2 separate regions of the Homo sapiens genome follow, and region 1 is linked to region 2. Evidence: promoter capture Hi-C in 16 types of primary human blood cells and fetal thymus (Javierre and others, 2016). All regions are on one chromosome and are shown on one strand. Each heading gives the region's core, a stretch centred on a gene start or on the middle of the fragment in contact. The rest is flanking DNA. Distances are from core to core; before and after follow the strand shown. Region 1 has its middle 7.1 kb from the start of OR13J1. Region 2 holds the start of GBA2 (glucosylceramidase beta 2).

The links. The method cuts DNA at HindIII sites, captures the fragments that hold promoters and counts their contacts. A CHiCAGO score of 5 or more calls a contact.
Region 1: a fragment that was not itself captured here is called in contact with the fragment with the promoter of GBA2 in region 2 in 2 of 17 cell types (megakaryocytes and naive B cells); the score reaches 5.2 in megakaryocytes.

The regions. Positions count from the first base shown.
Region 1 is chr9:35,876,131-35,878,830 of GRCh38, reverse strand. No RefSeq gene overlaps it. Among named protein-coding and RNA genes, the nearest start is that of OR13J1, 7.1 kb to the right of the region's middle. The HindIII fragment of the contact is 1,333 bases long and covers 740-2,072 here.
Region 2 is chr9:35,747,794-35,750,493 of GRCh38, reverse strand. It overlaps GBA2 (glucosylceramidase beta 2), which reads left to right and starts at 1,266. Exons shown (of 17, transcript NM_020944.3): 1 at 1,266-2,148. The coding sequence starts at 1,790. RGP1 (RGP1 partner of RAB6A GEF complex) reads right to left here and starts at 1,207. Exons shown (of 9, transcript NM_001080496.3): 1 at 1,086-1,207; 2 at 623-757; 3 at 115-251. The coding sequence starts at 738. RefSeq lists silencers at 918-967, 998-1,047, 1,168-1,567. The HindIII fragment of the contact is 10,379 bases long and covers 1-1,674 here.

The DNA.
Region 1 (2,700 bases), core at 157-2,656, 130 kb before region 2:
GCAAAAGTAATAAGGTATTATAGAATTTTAACAGATGTGGAATTACAATATATAACAACAATAGCTCAAAACCCAGATGAGGGGAAGTGAAAGGGCATTGTTGCGACATTTATATACTATAGGTGAGGTGGTATTACATTAATTAAAGGTAGATTAAAAGAGGAACAAATAACAGATGGAACAATAGAAAACAAACAGCCAGATGAAATATTTAAATCCAACTATGTCCCTGGTCATTTTTAATGCAATTGGTCTAAGCATCTAAATTAAAGGGCAGAGATTGTCTGATTAAATTTTTAAAGATCCGGCCGGGCACAGTGGCTCACGCCTGTAATCCCAGCACTTTGGGAGGCCGAGGCAGGCAGATCACGAGGTCAGGAGATTGAGACCATCCTGGCCAACATGGTGAAACCCCGTCTTTACCAAAAATACAAAAATTAGCTGGGCCTGGTGGCACGTGCCTGTAATCCCAGCTACTCAAAGGAGGCTGAGGCGGGAGAATGGTGTGAACCCAGGAGGCAGAGCTTGCAGTGAGCCGAGATCACACCACTGCACTCCAGCCTGGCGACATAGCAAGGCTCCATCTCAAAAAAAAAAAAAAAAAAAATTAAAGCTCCAATTCTATATTAATAGCAGACAAAGTAGATATTAGAGCAAAAACATTAACAGGGATAAAGAGGGTCATTTGAAAATGACAAAGATGTCAGTTCATCAAGATAACATAACAGTCCTAAAAGCTTATATATCTAATGACAGAGCCTCAAAATACATAAAGCAAGACCTGATAGAACTGAAAGGAGGAATAGACAAATCTGTAATTGCAGCCAAAGATTTCAACATCCCTGTCTCAGTAGTTGAAAAATAAGTAGACAGAAAATTAGTAAGAATATAGGAGACTTGGACAATACTTTCATCCAACTTAATTGATATTTATAAAACCCTTCACCCAATAACAGCAGAATACCGTGGAAAAAGACAGCTAAGGAAAATCCTCCTGGGGTCAAAACAAACCTCAAAGACTGGCCTCAAAAATACTCCTGCCCAAATTTAATTGGATCAGACTGTGGCACAATGTATTCCCCATCACATGATCAAAAACAATAAAGCAATCAGATGACAATTTGTGGAGCCTAACACTGGCTGTGATACCAGCAGAAGTAGATACTTTTACAAATAGATCAGGAAAAGCAACAGTCAAATGGCTCTGCTAAAACCACTGTTATCCCAGGGTGTGAATGTGCACATATCCAAGGCTACATACAGCCTCTGAGGAAAGACAGAGGCTTCGTGCTGTGGGATAATAGACTAAATTAAATAGTCTAGCCAAGTCAGGAATAAAGAAGTAAAAAATAACAAAAGCAAGCTACAAAGACGGGTGGAAGATCGGTATCTAGAGTGGCTACCATATATTACCAAAAATATACAGTTTCAACAAAAAATTATGAATCATGCAAAGGAACAAGAAAGTATGCATACATGAAGGGGGAACACAGGCAAGAGAAACTGCCTGCAAAAGGCCTCAAGTCATATTTAGCCAATGAAGATTTCAAGCATCCACTGTAACTATATTCAAAGAATTAAAGGAATTCATGCTTAAAGAATTAAAGGATCTACATATTTGGTGCAATCCCTATCAAAATCCCAATGATGTTTTTGCAGAAATAGAAACATCATCCTAAGATTCATATGGAATCTCAAGGGACCTTGAGTAGTCAAAACAACTTTGAATAATAACAAAGCTGAAGGACTCACACTTCCTGATTTCAAAACTTACTACAAAGCTACAGTAATCAAAACAGTATGGTACTGGCATAAAGACAGACACACAGACCAATGGAACAGAATGAAAAGCCCAGAAATAAACCCTCATATCAAGTGATTTTTGTCAAGAGCAATGAGACTATCTATTTAGGAAGGGACAGTTTTTTTCAATAAATTGTGCTGGGAAAATTAGATGTCCACATGCAAAAGAGACTCTTACGTAGTGCCAAATACCAAAACAAAAATTCAAAATGGACCAAAGACCTACCAAAAACTATCAAACTTTTAGAAGAAATCACAGGGCAAAAGCTTCATGAATTTGAATTTGGCAATAATTTCTTGGATATGACTCCAAAGGCAGAGGCAAAAAAAAGAAAACAATCAACAAATTAGACTTCATGAAAATATTAAAATTTTGTGCATCACAAGACTATGTCAACAGAGTAAGAAGGCAACCCACAGAATGGGAGAAAATATTTATAAATTATGTATCTGATGAGGGATTAACATCCATAATATAGAGAGAACTCCTAAAACCCAAAACAAAAAAACCACAGTGCTATTAATAAAAGGGCAAATAACTTAAAGAGACATTTCTCCAAAAATCTATACAAATGGACAATAGGCACATGAACAAATGTTTACCACTAAATCATTAAGGTAATACAATCAAAACTACAATAAGATAGTCCATCTCACCCATTAGAATGGCTGCTATTTAAAAAAAAAAACAGAAAATAACAAGTGTTGGTGAGACTATGAAGCAATTGGAACCCTTGTGCACTGTTGGTGGAAATATAAAATGGAAAACAGTATGGTAGTTTCTCAAAAAAGTTAAAAATAAAATAACCATATGATTCAGCAATTCTACCTCTGGTGAGGGGTGGGGGAGTAAAGGAAGCTATGATGACAATTTCTCATCAAATAGAGATATTAATG
Region 2 (2,700 bases), core at 17-2,516:
AGCATGACAGGGACTATAAGAACAAGAACAATTAACAACTTCACCCATGGGTGACAATGCCTCCACACACACCCTCCGCACCCCCCCTCTCCCAGGCAAATGCCCCTCTCTAACCTCGGTGTGGCAGAAAGACAGTCTGGCTGTCGGGCTGGACATCTGGCTGACTAGAGTCAGGAGGAGGCAGTGCTACTCGACTCTCACTGGCATGGAACTGGCAGTGGATTTGGGCACTGGCCCAGGCCAGGGCCTCACTGTGGGAAAAGGAAAAGGAGGCATCAGAGGTAGTTCCTGACCTCACAAATGCTTTCCCAAGCTCCCTATCACACCATCTTAACCAACAAGGTTAGATGGCTGTCCTAGTGATCAGGAAATCCACAATCCCAAAGAGAAACCATTAAATAAAGAGTAGCAGACTGTGCGTAAAAAGGGGAACGGGGGAGGGGAAGGAAAGCGTACAGCTATGTCATCCACATCTTCTGTTAAAGAGCCCTCTCCTACAATGACAGCACAGTGAGCAAGAGGAGGTGGTGTCGCTACAGGACAACCTGAGCTCTGCCTCAGCCCCAGAGATAATCTGGCTTCTTCCCAGAAGGGCCACCACCTTCAGTGCCAGCATCCCCACCTGGATGCAGAAGTGGCCGTGGGCGGAAGGGGGTTGGTGACGGTCACTACACACTCCAGCGCCTCCCCAGCCAAAAATACAGGACCCCGGCTGAGCTCTGCTACCACTTCAATCATGGCAGCTCCGGAATCAGATCTAGAAGGAAACAAGGCGGGGCGGAGGTCAGCACCTTGACAGGGAGGGGCGTTGCGGTGAGCACCTAGGGCTGAGGGCTGAGGACAGGGGTGGTCAGCACCGTGGTGCCCGAGGGAGCTCCTGGATATAGGAGGGGTAGGCGGGTGGGAGGGAGGCGACTGAAGACTCAGTACTGCCCAGGGGGAGGACATCGCTCTGGGCCCTAGACCCCAGCCCCTGTGCGACGGGTTCTTCTCCCTGGGCACCCCCGCGGAGTTCCCAAACTGGCCTCCGCTCCCCCTTTCCTCAAAGTTCCACGTCCCAGCCCAAGATCACCGCCGCTAGTCACCTCGCATAGTCGACACTAGGGATCGGCACCCCTAGGCCTCATCTGCCCGCCCCTCAGGGACCTGGCTAGGTACGCGGCGGCGGCGGCGGCGGCGGCGTCCGCTGGGCGGTAGAGGCGGGACTTCCCTTCGGTCCCCCACCCTCCGCGGAGTCCCTTCCGGCCGGAAGCGCCCGGCAGGCCAGACCGGAAAGGGCTCGGGTCATCCCGGCGCCCAGGGTCACCTTCCCACGGGCTGGCACCTGGGCGCGGGCGCTGCCCCGGAGCCGGCCGGCGGGACCTGGCGCCCAATCCTGGGGGACCCGGTGCCGTGGCCCAGGGGCCGGGCCGAGGTCCCGGGGGCGGTGCCTTGCGGGCCCGTCCCGGGGCGGTGCCTGGTGGGCTGGCCCCGCGGCTCCTCCCCTCTCTGCGGGCCCAGTCGCCCTTTGGCCGGGCGAGCTAATCGTCGGCTCAATGACGACGAGGCCCGACCCTTCCCGTCCAGGACCTACAGAGACAACCGAAGGAGAGCCCAAGGCGGCTTCTTTGCTGTCGCCGCCCCCACTGAAGCAAGAGCTCCCCGGCTCCACTGAAACACCAGCTCATTTAAGCTTTCCCCAACGCCCGGCCCTCCGGGACGATACCTAACAACGACCGGCGCCCGCATCTGGAATAGGCTGGCGAGATACTTAGTATCCGAGGGCTCGGGACTTGGCGCCATCGAGGTCATGGGGACCCAGGATCCAGGGAACATGGGAACCGGCGTCCCAGCCTCGGAGCAGATAAGCTGTGCCAAAGAGGATCCACAAGTTTATTGCCCTGAAGAGACTGGCGGCACCAAGGATGTGCAGGTTACAGACTGTAAGAGTCCCGAAGACAGCCGACCCCCAAAAGAGACGGACTGCTGCAATCCGGAGGACTCTGGGCAGCTGATGGTTTCCTATGAGGGTAAAGCTATGGGCTACCAGGTGCCTCCCTTTGGCTGGCGCATCTGTCTGGCTCATGAGTTTACAGAGAAGAGGAAACCCTTTCAAGCTAACAACGTCTCCCTAAGCAACATGATAAAGCATATAGGCATGGGCTTGAGGTGAGTAGACCCCATTGCCTAGAATGCCTTTGGCTTCACTTTGTTCCAGCTCAAAACTTCTAGCAGAGGTGGGAAAGGGCAAGAAAGCAGTTGGGCTTCTTGTCTGAGTGAAGCGGTCCCTATCCCTGGCATATTTTAGGCCTGTGGTTTTGGACCGTGAGACCAGGTCACATCTCTTTGCAACACCCTTCCCTCCCAGTGTTTTGTCTTTTCAGAAGGAAAGGGTAGGAACATTTGGTCATGCAATCAGCCTTTCCCATTCAGGCTCTTCTCACATACTGGTTTCCAATGACTTCCCTTTGGGATTAGCTATACTTTGTGGCAAGGTAGGAAAGGATAATCTGGCTGCTGTGATACTAACACAATGTTGTTTTATTTGGGGGTGGGGGGGTCTCAACCCCTTATTTCCCACAAGCAGCTGGGGCATTCTCTGTACCTCATTAGACACACTGTTAGAGTCCCAACACTACTGCTTCTTTCTTCAAGCTTTAGCTCCAGGGAGTAGGTAAGAAGAGCCTCCCTGCCCTCACCTCTGAAGTGATGAGAAGGTGC